Linked DNA regions of Homo sapiens: region 1 is linked to region 2. The links are contacts of gene promoters, found by promoter capture Hi-C in blood cells and fetal thymus (Javierre and others, 2016). All regions are on one chromosome and are shown on one strand. Each heading gives the region's core, a stretch centred on a gene start or on the middle of the fragment in contact. The rest is flanking DNA. Distances are from core to core; before and after follow the strand shown. Region 1 holds the start of TLCD5 (TLC domain containing 5). Region 2 holds the start of OAF (out at first homolog).

Region 1 (7,381 bases), core at 2,394-4,893, 110 kb after region 2:
CCCAGATTCACGCCATTCTCCTGCCTCAGCCTCCTGAGTAGCTGGGACTACAGGCGCCCGCCACCACGCCCAGCTAATTTTTTCTATTTTTCAGTAGAGACGGGATTTCACCATGTTAGCCAGGATGGTCTCGATCTCCTGACCGCGTGATCCGCCTGCCTTGGCCTCCGAAAGTGCTGGGATTACAGGCGTGAGCCACCGCGCCCAACCGAACTGTATTTCATACTCTGATGTTTAGTTGACTCAAAACGGGTGGGCCCAGCTCTGCCCTCCTAAGACAAAGTAAGAACTTTTGGTCTGACTCAGAGACTGAGTTTATTAACCCTAGGACTCAAAGCAGGAACCCTGGCCGGAGCTCCCAGGTTGCCAGGGTTCCTCTTGTGCTCTGTGTGGCCCCACCATAGCTCACCTGCTGACTCTTCTGCCTCTTCCTTCTGTGGGGGGAACTCCTTGCAGTTGAGGCTTTTTTTTTTTTTTTCTGTATCCCTGTGGCTAACATTGTGACTAGCACATAACAGGCAGTTATGTTTTTTAAATATAAAATTCCCTTTTTTTCCCTCTAAATTTTTAATGCCCTTCACTGAGATAGGAGTTGTGAATACAGCAGAATACAGTGCAAACCTGCAGGAATTTTTAGGTAAGTGGAGGCAGCATATCACAGTGGTTAAGGGCATTGTCATGCCAGACCCCTATTGACTTCAGGAGGGATAGCACCAGATTCAAGAGGCCAGAGACCAAGAGCCAACAAATGCGACATAGGGTTTGTTGAGGGGAACTTACATAAGAGGGATCCGGTGGCAACAGGCTGGACAGGAGAACCACCACTGCCTGCAGAAAGCACGCAGTTTACATGGCACTCTCATCTAACACCCTCCCGCTAACAACCTCCACCTGGCAACCTTCATTTACCCCAAAACAAAGGGCCTCAGCCCCCTGTATGGCCCATGTTCCAAGGGCTGGGCCAGGGGCTCAGATGTTCCTCATACATAAGGAATAATCTCTGGGTTGGCCACGCTTGGAACACTAGACACACATTCAGGTGTGTCTGCCACACAGGGTCATTCTCAGGTTATACTTAAGTTACCGCTGTCAGGTGCATCTGCCATACAGGCGTGATCTCCAGAGTCATATTGCCTGGGTTTGTACCCTACTCTGCCTCCTACTAACCGTGTCATCTTGGGAAAGCCTTGACTGCTCCATGACTCAGTTTCTCACCTGTAAAATGGAGATAACAATAGGTCCCATCCCATAGAATTGTTTGTGAGGATTGAGTGTGTGTATATATATATGTGTGTGTATGTGTATGCATATATATGTGTGTGTGTGTATACATATATATGTATATGTGTATATATATGTGTGTGTGTGTGTGTATATATATATATATGTAGTGCTTGGAACAATGCCTGGTACATTAATAAGGGCAGTATAGGTGTTATTTGTTATTATTGTGATTATTATTCTCATTGCTATTAAATTGGTGGAGAGCTTCCTGTCCCCTGCTCTCCTTAACAGCCCAGAATTTCTGGGGGATGCTACCGGTGACAAGGATCTGATTTGGTGGAACAGGGATTGTGGCCAAAGATACATACATCAACAAAATTTAATCCTAGGTCATGAAGCTTGAACCTAGAATCCCAGTCACCCTAGGATAAAGGCCCAATATTTTAGGAAGAACTGGCTCCTTCCCTTTTACCTTACCCCCTCAGCCTTTAGGCTCCTGAAGGCTTTAGTACCCTACTTTTGTGGGAAATGATGGCAGCAAGAAGAAAGTCCAGATTCAGATACTAGAAAAAAAATACTGCAACAAAACAAATGGGGGAAAGGGTGAGCTCTGCATACTCTCCATTCAGTGAAGTGGAGCCTTCCATGTTTTACTTCTCCAGACTATCATTACCTGTTATCCGGTCTATCCTAACACATGTGTAACAGGCCTTCTGCAATTCATCTTACACTGATTTTAATTGAGTATTGCTAGAGCTGGGGTTCTCAACTTTGGTTGCACATTGGAATCACCCAGGGAGCTTTTAAATTGATTGATATCTACACAGAGATTCTGATTTACTTTTTTCGGAGTGTGCCCTGGGTATTAGGATTTTAAATAGCTCCCAAGTGATACTACCATGCTATCAAGATTAAGAACTACGACCCAAATGTGTATACGAATCACTGGGGAACTTGTTAAAATGCACATTCTAGTTTGGTAGGTCCAGGGGTAGGTTCTGAGATTCTGAGTCTCTAATGAACTCCAAGGTGATGCAGATTTTGCTGGTCCATAGACCACACTTTGAGTAGCAAGGGCTTGGAGAGCATGATAATATGATTCCCTTGTTCAATAACATCATGAGCTTCCACATAATAAGCTCTCTCAGCCTGGCATCTTAGGCTGGCATCAGAGGCATTTAAGGACTCTAACAGCAATGGTTATCAAATGTGATCGTCTGAATGACTCCTGGGCAGGTTTTAAAAAATACAGATCCCTGGACCCCATACCAGACCTAATAAATCATAATATTCAAGGTACAGCCTGCACAGGGTATTTGAAAACACTTCCCAAGTGGCATAGTTGATCAACACACTTTAGGAACTGTGATATGCTTCCAAGATAGTTTCCCAGGCTCATTTCACATTAATTCAACATACAAACATTTATTGTACCTGCCTCATGCTAGGTACTAGGGAAACAAAGATGAAACCAGTGCCATCCTTACCTTTGAAGAGTTGGTAAGATAAATGACCAAAACTAGAATATTTACTATTCCCCAGGCACGGCCTAAACACTCACACCTCTGCTAACGGTCTTCTCCTTTGAGAATGTCTAGGTTCCTCAGCACCCGGGATTGCCTGTCCTGATCAATCAAGACAGACACCGTCTTTACCCCATTCGAGCCTCCATTCTTATCGCTCAAACTTACTCTGCTTGGTATTAAAATAGAACCAGAGAAGAAAAGGATTTACCCAAAGTGAAATAAAACAGTTGGTATTTATGTAGTGACTTCCATGTGCCAGTCATTGTTCAAAGCACTTTACACATGTAATATTTTAAAATTCTCAAAATAACCATATGAGATAGGTGTTATTACTATCCCCATCCTCAGGATCGAGGAAAGGGAGGCAACAGAAAAGTAACTTGCCCAAAGAGGTACCAAGCAAGGTTCACTTTCAAGCCTTATGCTTTACTGTCAAGTTGGTTACAGGGCTGACTGGAATACTGTAACTTCTAATTCTCAGGCCTGAGCACTTTCCTGCTCATCAATTCCTGTTTCACGACTTAAATTCAAGCACGAGGGCAAGAACGATGTCTTACATCCCCCACAATGCCTAGTAAGGGTGCAAGTACTTAGTAGGTACTCGATAAATTGATTGGATGAGCTGTCCCATTGAGGGGAGGGGAGAAGTGGATAATGATTTAAACAAACAACAACAGCTAAACAAGAGCAGCGGCCTCCAGGTCTCACGTCACCGCTAGATCCCTCTTGACCCCCCCGCCAGAGAAGGAGGACCCTCCCGCGCCCTTTCGGAGCGTCGGTGGCCCGGCTCCGGCTCTGCGCTCCATCCTCCCAGCCAGCAGGTGCCCCCAGACCCCCGGCTCCTCCTCCGCCGCCGTCACAGCCTCGTCCTCCGCCTCTGGCTCCTCCGCTTCCTGTTGCCGCGATCCGGGCCGGGAGCTGCGGGCGCCCGGGCGCCCGAGGCTTCCCGGTGCGCTCCGCCAGGTAACCGCTCGGCGCGAACTGCCCGGCCGGGGTGGGCACGGGGCCCGCGCGGCCCATTGGTGGGGAAGGAGGCGGCAGAGGGCCCGGGCTCGCCTCCGAAGGGGAGCGGGCCTCCTCCTGCCTCGGACGCCCGAGGCCTTCCTGCGCCAGGCTGCGGCGCCAGCGGGATGCGGGGATAACGGTGCCTGGCTCCGGCTCTTGGTCCGGGCGTGGCCGAGCGTCGCAGGCACCGCCGCGCGGAGATGCGATCGCCGTCCCTGCGAGGCCCCGGGGCCCGCGCTCGCCGCCAGCCACGCCTGCTCCAAGGCTCCTCCTCGCCAGTCTGGCCCTGGAACGGGAGAAACCAGGAGAGGAGCCTTGGACCTCTGAGCCGCGATGGCCTTCCAAATGCCCTTCCGTTCTTTGGCAAAAACCAAGAGCAAAAAGCCGAAACCCACACAGGGAGTTCCCAAGGTCACAGAGTTGTGTCTGCCATTTACGAATGTCTGTTCTTTTATTTAAGTGTTTGTAAATGGGCTACTGTTTTCTCTGTTCTGCCAAGGAATTAGGATTCAGAGAAGAAGACTCTAAAAATACTAATAGGCATATCCAAATGAGCTGATCCGCATTACTGGCCAGTGACCCTGGCCTTTAGAAGGAGATAAGGGAGGGCAGTTCTCTTCACCTGGGATACTTTGTATTTCTGGCCCTTACTCTGAGAATTGGCCTTGATGTTTTACAAAGTTTATCTCAGAACTCCATGTCAGAACTGGACCGGACTGTAGAGTTCTTCAGTCCTAGTCTCTTTCTTTCCTTTCCCTTCCTCCCCTTCCTCTTCCTTCTTTTCTTTTCTTTAATTTCTTCTTTTTTTTTTTAACTGTGGTTCTAGAGGTTAAAGTGATTTGCCCACACTCTTATGGCTAGTCTCTCTAGGGACAGAGACAGAATTGGAACCCAGGTCTATTATGGACACCTACGGTTTTCTTGAATGGAAATCTGATTTCAGATGAAAGCTGTACAGAACTTGACCTTCATGAAGCCCTCTCTGGATAGCATTCTTGGGAAGTGGCTTGTGTATTGACGTCCACAGATAACTATTTCACTGGTCAGAATAAGGTTAAGCAATAAGCATAGCCATGCAGAAAATGTCTGCTGAGATGAAGTAGATATCTGATATGTTTTTGACTTTTTATTTGTACGTTTCAATGGAGGAGCTAATGAATACTAACTAATAACAACATCTTGCTCATTTAGATTTTAGTCCTGTGTGACTAAATTGACTCAGTTATAGTTGTTCTTGTCCTAACGTATTTGTCACCAGTAAAAGTTCCAAGGTACAGCTTTCTGGCTTCATTTCATTTTTAACTGAATAATTGCCTTAAGGATATTTTTAGATCTCAACAAAAACTCCCCTCCTCTTGAACCTTAGAATCCTTCTGCTTCACTCTTGGCAAATCTTTGGGTCGGATTTCAGAACTGAATAAAGCCAGGATTTCCCCCCAACCTCCAAGATGTCTGGACTCTTTGTTTAGTTCTGTATTTAAGTTTATCCCAAGTTTTGTTTTTGACTGATGAACCTGTGACCCAAATCCAAACCTCAGCTGAATTTAGTATCAGCTTAAAACCACATTAAACTGCCATGTGTCATGTGACCTCTAGCAGAAACCAACGTGGCAGTGTTCTGTTTTTTCATGAGTGCGTTTCATTGGGGTTTTTGAACTGTGAAGACATTATTTAATACATGTGCTTTATTTTCTGTGTATTATTGCCCAAGGTCAGTCATCGCTAGAGGGTTATTATTGACATTTACTCATCATAAAATGTGATGTCAGCCTACCAGCTCGGAGTGCAGTTCCTGGTTTCCAGTTTACAACATTGACCAGTTGCTAACATGTTATCTCTGAGGAACTTGGAATGATAAATACAGCCATACTTAAATAGAAGATTCTTGGCCGTGTAGATAAGGAAAATAAGATAAGGCAATATTTTTGAACTATTCTATAATAGAAATGAGGATATATACACAAAATGACCCAGTGCTGTTTTCTTAGGGTGCATCCTTTGTTTTTCTGGTTTTGGTCTTTTCATCACAGGATGGCATTAGCTCTGTGTCTGCAGGTGCTGTGCAGCCTGTGTGGCTGGCTCTCGCTCTATATTTCTTTCTGCCACCTGAATAAGCACCGAAGCTATGAGTGGAGCTGCCGCCTGGTCACCTTCACCCATGGAGTCCTCTCTATAGGCCTCTCCGCTTATATTGGCTTCATTGATGGCCCATGGCCTTTTACCCACCCAGGTAGGTAGGGGATTTTCCCTTAGGGATTTATGATTTGGGGGTAGTCTTAGAAGTATGGGACTTTTAAACAGAATTTGTACAATACTGAAGACTAATTCCCATTATAATTTTGTATTGGAATCCTTATTCTTCTTCATTGTTAACTCTGATATTGTTTATGTCACCTGTTGTTTCTGCTTTTCATAACTCTCTACTTTTAAAACAGATTTTAAATTGCTTGTTACAATTTAATTGGAAATACAAAAACTATAAAGCCAGTATCAACATCTTCCACTACCACCCCCGAAAAGACAAAAATAGAACTGTATCATACATATTTTTGGCAACTTGCAACTTTTACTTGACTGTCTATTCAAAAGACAGCATCTTTCCATGTCTATGTTAAGAGGATGAGATGTTCCTTATCCTTTTTGTTACTAGATGTACAAGTGTTACTTTCAGAAGTATGCAATTTTTTTTTTTTTGAGATGGAGTCTTGCTCTGTTGCCCAGGCTGGGGTGCAGTGGCTCAATCTCAGCAAGCTCCGCCTCCCAGGATCACGCCATTCTCCTGCCTCAGCCTCCCGAGTAGCTGGGACTACAGGTGCCCGCCACCATGCCCAGCTAATTTTTTTTGTATTTTTAGTAGAGATGGGGTTTCACTGTGTTAGTCAGGATGGTCTCGATCTCCTGACCTCGTGATCCACCCGCCTTGGCCTCCCAAAGTGCTGGGATTACAGGTGTGAGCCACCGCACCCGGCCAAGTATGCAAAAATTTTACCCCCTTGTATTAATTGGTTGGGGCTGCCATAACACAGTACCACAGAGTGGGTGGCTTAACCAGATGTTCATTTTCTTAAAATTCTAGAGGCTAGAAGTCGGAGTTCAAGTTGTTAGCAGGTTTGGTTTCTTCTGAGGCCTCTGTCCTTGGCTTGCACATGGCCGCTCTCCCACTGTGTCCTTCCATGGTCTCCCCTCTGTGTGTGTGTGTGTGTATGTGTGTGTGTTTGTATATGTATGCATATCTGTGTCCTAATCCCTTCTAAGGATAACAGTCATAGTGTGTGTGTGTGTGTGTGTGTGTGTGTGTATGTTTATGTATGCATACCTGTGTCCTAATCCCTTCTAAGGATAACAGTCATATTGTGTGTGTGTGTGTGCGCGTGTATGTTTGTATATGTATGCATATCTGTGTCCTAATCCCTTCTAAGGATAACAGTCATAGTGTGTGTGTGTGTGTGTGTGTATGTATATGTATGCATATCTGTGTCCTAATCCCTTCTAAGGATAACAGTCATAGTGTGTGTGTGTGTGTGTGTGTGTGTGTTTGTGTATGTTTATGTATGCATATCTGTGTCCTAATCCCTTCTAAGGATAACAGTCATAGTGTGTGTGTGTGTGTATGTGTTTGTATATGT
Region 2 (7,595 bases), core at 4,125-6,624:
ATTAAAATATTTTGTTTTGCCATGATTTTATAGCCTGCTTCTCTTGCATGTTCCATCTCAGGGTAAATAATTGTTGCATCTGCCTTGTTCCACTGCTGTGCCCACAGCATCTAGTGCAGTGACTCACTCTTCACGTGCTAGATGACTGAATGAACGAGTGAATGCATGAGTCTGGGGGTGGGGAGCAGGGAAGGCCTCATGGAGGAACTAGCATGGAGGAAAAGAGGTTATGTTTGGGACTTTTTTCTGTTTGTTTGTTTTGAGACAGAGTCTTGCTCTATTGCCCAGGCTAGAGTGCAGTGGCATGATCTTGGCTCACTACAACCTCCGTCACCTAGGTTTAAGCAGTCCTCCTGCCTCAGCCTCTTGAGTAGCTGGGACTACAGGCACACGCCACCATGCCCAGTTAATTTTTGTATTTTTATTAGAAACGGAGTTTCACCATATTGGCCAGGCTGGTCTCGTACTCCTGACCTCCTGATCTGCCTGCCTCGGCCTCCCAAAGTTCTGGGATTACAGGCGTGAGCCATCGTGCCCAGCTATGTTTGGGACTTTCAAGAGTCAATGGGCAACATGGAGCTCTGTGCCGTGTCAAAGGAGGAGACAAGCCCTGGCTTCAGAATGCCAGGCTTCTAATCTGAGCAGCACCACTTACAGCTGGCCTAGGTTCTTTTGTAGCCTCTGGTTTCAAACACAAATACTGTGAAATAATTATAGCAAGAGGCAGAGGGTAAAAGGCACCTGAAGAGCTACCATAATCAATGGACTAATCAATGGACTGAGATCTGCCTTGGCTTGCAGCTCTGATCATCCAGGCTTCCTTTTCCTTCCTGAAAGTCATGGATCCAGCCCACCTCCATGACAACTTCCCTTCTGCCTGGTTTTTCTGCCCGAAAAGAATAGCTTCTCCATGCCTATCCCAGCCATCTCCACTTCTCTTCCCTTTCCACTCAGTATCCCCACCAGCTGTCTCTCCAATCCACTTTCCCACCACACCCTTGATGGATGGAACTGCATAATTGTGTGATGGCGGAAAGCTAATTTGTACTTCTGTGCTGGCAATGAAGTGTCTGGAGCTTTGCAATTGACATTGAGAAGCAGAGGGGATCCCTCACTCCATCCCTGGTTCTCCCTCAAACTCAAATCGCAAATCCTCCACTCTATCTGCAAAGGCCCAGAGACAAAGGGGCTGTAACCTAACCCAAACCAAACAGCCACTCACAGAAAGTCATGGGAAGAAAAAAATCTTTCCAGTCTTGCAAAGACAAGCACCTGGTGGTTCTCTCCCTGTCTCTCGGTAAAGGTCATTGGTTCAGTTTCCCTTTCCACCTCCTGCAGGGTCTTGTCAGCACCTGTTTTCTTGGGCACAGATTGGGAGATGGTTTGGTGTTTCTCTTCCTCCCAAATTAAGGCACACTCAGACCAAAAAGCAAAGGGAAAGTGCCTCCCGAGGTTTTGCTGCTATCCATTTCTCAGTTTCGGAGGTCTCAAGACACAGAAAACTTAGACACCTAAAGAGGATAGAGAGGAAGAAATATTTCTTTTTTATGTATTTATTTTTTTCTTTGAGACCAACTCGCTCTGTTACCCAGGCTGGAATGCAGTGGCACGATCTCAGCTCACTGCAGCCTCTGCCTCCTGGGTTCAAGCGATTCTCGTGCCTCAGTCGCCGGAGTAGCTGGGATTACAGGCGCCCACCACCACACCCGGCTAATTTTTGTATTTTAGTAGAGACGGGTTTTGCCATGTTGGCCAGGCTGGTCTCGAACTACTGACCTCAGGTGATCCACCCGCCTCGGCATCCCAAAGTGTTGGGATTACAGGTGTGAGCCACCGCGCCCAGCCAAAAAAATGTTTCTGAAAGAATATGTGTACATGCACGCGTATACATGTGGCAGGGGGTGAGAGGGAGAGACTTGTATAATCAGAGATTTAGTATGTGATACAATGGGAAAGAATAAACAGAATTAAAGGATAACAGCCACCATTTATTGGATCTGTACTATATGCCAAACATGTTGCGAAATATTTTATGCACAATGTTTCATTTAATTTTCAAAGCAACCCAGTGAGGGAGAAACGTATGCGCCCATTTTACAGTTGAAGAAACAGGCTCACTGACGCACAGCTCATGACTGGGGCCGAGCTCCAGGACTGAGATCCTGATGCCCATTTTCTGAACCACTACTGGCTACTGCTTTCCAAGGGCTAGAGATGAGAAAAAAAAGGAAATTGGTTTATGGTGTGGCAGAGGTCTTGCGATGAGACATGAAGAACTCTCTGACAATGAGGGCTGTTTGGTTGTAGTCGGAGTAATTAGGCTTGTTAGAGCTCTTCCTCTGACGGCCTTTACATTTAAGATGAATGGATGCTTCTATGCCCGGATGGTTTGAGGGAAACGCTGTCTGTTCCCAGCACGGGGCTGGCCTGTTTGAACTAGCTGACGGCTTCACTGGGGATACAGGATTGCCACACGCGAAACCGTTAGATAACAGGAGAAGATAGCGCAGGATGTGAGCCCCGAGTGGGACTGGCAGAAAGTGAGGGCTACCGACAGGCAGAGGCTACTGTGGTTCAAAGCAAGGGCTTTGTGGTCAGGCGGGCAGACTTGTGTTTGAGTCCCGGCTGGCTCTACTGCTTTTGTGACCTTGGGTATGTTGCCTAACCTCTCTAAGCTTTGGTTTCCTAGTCAGTAAAAAGAGCCTAAGAATAGAACCTACTTTGGAGGGATGCCATGAAAATTAAATAAGATGATCCATGTAAAATGCTTGGCACAGAACCTGGACATAATCAAAATACAATGGGGGAGGAGCTGCTATAATAATGACTATTGTTGGAGTCCAGAGGCCGGAGACAGTGGCACAGAACAGAGGGCTAGGTCGGTGGGGAGTCGAGAAAGTCTTCCTGGGAAACCTGAGTTTTGTCCTGGAGCTTGAAGAGGTGGTCAGGTGAAATCAATAGCAAGGCATAGAGATGTAGGTAGGCAGGGCTTATGTAATGGAGTGAGATTTCAAATGCCCTATCACTTTCAAAGAAAAATCTGGTTTGATCTGTGGTTGAAGTAGAGAAGGAAGTTGACTATGGGGAAGAGGTGGGAAAGAGATGAGGTCTTCCATCCTTGTTTCCAAACCCAAAATGTGAACAGAGACAAACCTCAGGGACCTAAACAAGAAATCTGACATCCAGGGCTTCTTTGCCCACTTCTGGGCTGTTGTGGGAGGAGAAGGGGTAAGAGCCTGGGAAATGGCTGAGGGCAGAGCTGGTGGCGGATGGGGACAGGACCTGAAACAAGGGAAGTTAGGAAATGTGGGCGAGGCCCTTAATGACTGTGTGGGCTGACTCATGTGGGAGACCTAGCTTCAAGGCCGCATGGAGATCCAGCATCCTGTCAGGCGGGAGGCCAATTTCAAGACCCTGGGCATCTCTAGTCTAAACGGTTGCCAGCTAAGAGTGGGAGTCCTTAGGGGAGCAATCCTTGTGCTAATCCAATTATTCCCTAACAGCCTGCCTTATCTCCCGGATGTGAAGATGAACTCCTTAGGAGCCAGGTTCTCCAGGAAGGATGCTGCTTGTTTCAGATGCTCTATGTTTTTGTTTTGTTTTGTTTTGTTTTGTTTTGTAGAGACGGAGTCTTCCTCTGTCACCCAGGCTGGAGTGCAGTGGCGCAATTTTGGCTCGCTGCAACTTCTGCCTCCTGGGTTCAAGCAATTCTCCTACCCCAGCCTCCCGAGTAGCTGGGATTACAGGCGCACGCCGCCACACCCAGCTAATTTCTTTTGTATTTTAGTAGAGACGGGATTTCACCTTGTTGCCCAGGTTGGTCTCGAACTCCTGAGCTCAGGCAATCCGCCCGCCTCGGCCTCCCAAAGTGCTAGGATTACAGGCATGAGCCACCGCGTCTGGCCCAGACGCTCTATGCTTAAACATCTGCCAAATACCTGCTGTCAACCACTTATGTCGAGCATCATGTGGGCCTTGTCAAAAATGCTAATCCTCAGTTCTTTTCCCTAGAATCTGATTCCATGGGTTTAGGGATTCGGGAATCTATTTTCTAACAAGCATCCAGGTGATTCTTCAGGAAAGGCAAATTTGGAAAAGGCTGACTTGGTAGTCTCTTAAATTCCCTTCAGTCCTAAATCTAGGCAGCAGAGAGCGGGTAGCGGGAAGGGCCCCTGGATGATAGCAAGAGGCCGATTCTAGCCGGACCCTGCAGTTCACATGGCCCTGTGCTGGGGAAGCCCTAGAAGGGAAGGAGGCTGCAGAGAAGGGAGTTTTCACCCATCAGTAATCAAGGTCCCAACAGAAGTGAAAATGGAAGTCAGGGAACAATTGGTTTTGAGCATCTTCGTGGGGCTTTTTCCCTTGCCTGGGACTGGCAGGACAGTGTAGGTCTGAGCAGCTTCCACGATACACACGGGGACACTTAAGCCCAAAGAATTTTTAAAACGTGCCTAAATTCCACAACTAATCAGAGGAGGCAGCAATCCAGATCTCCTGGTCTTCACCCTTCTTATTGTTGGGGTGCACCGCAGGGCACGCATGTTTCCTTGTGGCTTGTGGGAAAGCCACTGTCGTGGAGCGCCAGCGTCCCGAGTCCCTGGAAATTCTCCCAAGTGACCTGGAATCCAACATTTCCCTGGATTTTCATAGTCTATAATAGAGAGAAAGAACCGGGTCTGCGGTGGTGGGCAGGACTGAGGAAAGGCCGTGAATGCGGGAAGCACGGGAGGCAGGACTGAAAAGGAAAGAGGCACAGGGGCTCACAAAACCTGAGGGCCGCGTCCCAGTGGGTGACCTGACCCATCAAGGTCTAACACCTGGCCGTGGCAAAGCTGGGCGAGAACCCCCGATCCACCCTCCCAGTGTGGGGCAGGGAAAAGGCAGAGTGCAAAGCGAGGTCTGATTTTGCAGAAGCTTTTTAGAAATTCGCTGTCAGAGAAACTGAAAGACCAAACAAAACCCCTAAAAATCCAAGCCCGATTATTTCATCCACGTGGCACAAAAGCAAGCCAAAAAAAAAAAAGCGGGGGGGGGGGGTGGCGGTGCAGGGCGGGGGAAGAGTCACCCGTCCTGCCCCTGCTGGAAGGAAGGGATTTGCCCCGGGAGAGCAAACTTCTGACTCCGCCTGGGTCGCTGACTCCGCGCGGCCGGGCGGGAGGGAGGTCGAGGAGGCCGCTCGCACAAAGCCGCGGAGCCGCTGCCCCCTCTCCCCGCCCCCTGCCCGGCCAACGCCGAAGTGCGGAGAGCAGCCGCGGGCCCTTTAAGGGCCGCGAGGTGCGCGGTCTCTTTAAGGCGGGTCCTGGTGGTTTCTGTTTTCTGAAGGAAGTGACGGGGGGTGGGATTGAATGAAAAGTGCAAAACACAGGCTCGCAGCGCTGGAGCCCGGGGCCGCGGAGCCGGGCCGGGGCAGCGCCGTCTCCGCCTCGGGGCCGCCGGGGGCGCCCTGCTGAGCGCTACCCACGTGCGTCCGCGCCACCTCGCGGGCGACCCCGCGGCCAAGGCCCCCGGCGGAGCGGCTCCCGGGCGCCCCGAACTAGCCCCCAACTTTGGGCGAAGTTTGCCTGCGCCTCTCCCCGCCCCCACGCGGCGCGCCGGGGCCGCGGACGGCAGCGGCCCCCGGGGATGCGCCTTCCCGGGGTACCCCTGGCGCGCCCTGCGCTGCTGCTGCTGCTGCCGCTGCTCGCGCCGCTGCTGGGAACGGGTGCGCCGGCCGAGCTGCGGGTCCGCGTGCGGCTGCCGGACGGCCAGGTGACCGAGGAGAGCCTGCAGGCGGACAGCGACGCGGACAGCATCAGCCTCGAGCTGCGCAAGCCCGACGGCACCCTCGTCTCCTTCACCGCCGACTTCAAGAAGGTGAGGCGCCCTCACTCGCCGGGGTGGCACCTTCAAGCCTGAGCCCCCCGGGATCCCAGGCGCTCTCTTGCCTGCAGACGGAAAGACGGGCCCAGGAGGGAGACGCAGCTGGCCCAAGGTCACGCCGGGCTCTTCTCTACACCTCTTTGCCCACTCCCCAGGGCCCACCCCTTCATTCTCTCCAAAGAACCCCTCTGCTTCCCTTTCTCACTCCCTCCTCCAGCGCTCCCAGAGCCCCCCAGGTGCTAACCCTCCTCCAGAACTCCTACTAACGACTGGACTCCCTTCTTGGAGTCATTCCCCTGTGCTCTAGTGGGAAAGTCCTAGGCGAAGTGTTCTCGCTGTGGGCTCTCACTGTGGGTTCTCCCTGTGTGATCTAGAGCAAGCAAGCCTCTTTCCTCCTATGGGCCTGGCTTCTCACCCCTGTACAGGGCACTGAGGGGTCTGCGAGGCCTCCCAGCCCTGACATTTTGGAGTCCCTCTGTCACCTCTCCCTCTGTTTCACTTTTCTGGGGAGAGCTGGTTGCCCCTGGTCCCTCTCAAGCCGGGAGAAGCCCTGTCTCCTCTTTGGTCTGGAAGGCTGGGGCGCTTGCAGCAGGAGGATCCTGGAGAGAGACCCCAGCTGAGGCCCCCTCCCTCTGGGAGAAGTGCTGCCCTTCACTCTGCCTGGCAGAGAAGCGAGCCAACCCCCCTATTTTGGCCCAGATTAGGGTTAGGGAGTTAGAGACCAGCCCGGTGGGTGGGTGGGTGGGTGGGTGTGGGTGTGTGGGTGTGTGTCCCAGATTACGGTTTGGGAGTTAGAGACCAGCCCGCTCTTGGTGTGTGTGTGTCTGTGTTGGAGGGAATAAGAAGGGCCTTGCACCCAGGGGGCTGGGGGATTATCAGGAAATGGGCCTGGATGGTGAGTGACTAACAGTGACCCAGCAGCAGGAAAGCTGGAGGAAAAGAGGGTGGGTAAGTCTTAGGTATTCAAAAGGAGCGTTCTGTCTCCTTCCCCCAGCTAAAGAGAGGCCCTGTGAGGCTCTGTCCCTGGGGGAGTGCAGGGGTGAAGCCGATTAGATAGCTGGGGGAGCCCGGGGCCCCGGGGACCCTTGCTGAAGCTGCCTGTCTTTCCTCCCTCGTAGAGACAGGGCGCTTTAGAGGAGAGGTGGCGGAGTTTGGGAAGTCAGTTAGGGACCCAGCCAGATTGCCATAGTTAGCAGGGGTGAGGGGTTAGGCTTGACCGCTAGAGGTGGGTGGGGTTGGGGGGTGAGGCTTGACCGCTGATTGCCCCAGGGCCACGGAGTTGGCACTGACATTGGACATAAGCAGGCAGATGGGGGGTGGGGTAGTGAGCGTTCACAAATGGGAAGACTTTGTAGCCCATCCTTACTCCGCAGGCCTAAGCTAGGCACCCTGCCTCCCCACCTAAACCCTAGGAGAATTTTATCAAGTGTGTTCTGTTCCTGAAAAATCTATGTTAGTGGCTGGATCCATCAGGAATCGGGGATCTAATCTTCTGTCCAAGCCCTTTGTCCTTGAAAGTTAGCCTTAGGCCAGGCTGTGAGGCTCCCAACCCCCTGCCCACTGGATGTCATCTTGTGGCTGCACTAGAATCCTGCAGAGAGACTTCCCTGGCTGTGGCCAGGACAGTGAAAGGCAATGGGTAGGGCTGAGCTTTTATAGCCTTTAGCTACATCTGGAAGGTTTTTATTGCTGTGATCTGAAGGGAGAGGCTAAGAAGTACCCAGGTAGCTGTGATG

The links. Contacts are between HindIII fragments. The CHiCAGO score rates a contact against its expected background, and 5 or more counts as called.
Region 1: a contact is called between the fragment with the promoter of TLCD5 here and the fragment with the promoter of OAF in region 2, in 6 of 17 cell types (naive CD8 T cells, total CD8 T cells, erythroblasts and 3 more). The highest score is 8.2, in naive CD8 T cells.

What each region holds. Positions count from the first base shown.
Region 1 is chr11:120,321,656-120,329,036 of GRCh38, forward strand. It overlaps TLCD5 (TLC domain containing 5), which reads left to right and starts at 3,644. Exons shown (of 3, transcript NM_001198671.2): 1 at 3,644-3,713; 2 at 5,786-5,985. The coding sequence starts at 5,787. RefSeq lists silencers at 1,057-1,216, 3,589-3,878, 3,949-4,008, an enhancer at 3,253-3,397 and a cis regulatory region at 3,325. The HindIII fragment of the contact is 8,838 bases long and covers 1,621-7,381 here.
Region 2 is chr11:120,205,658-120,213,252 of GRCh38, forward strand. It overlaps OAF (out at first homolog), which reads left to right and starts at 5,375. Exons shown (of 4, transcript NM_178507.4): 1 at 5,375-5,853. The coding sequence starts at 5,623. RefSeq lists an enhancer at 4,128-4,669 and silencers at 5,003-5,262, 5,443-5,492, 5,583-5,692. The HindIII fragment of the contact is 5,525 bases long and covers 4,913-7,595 here.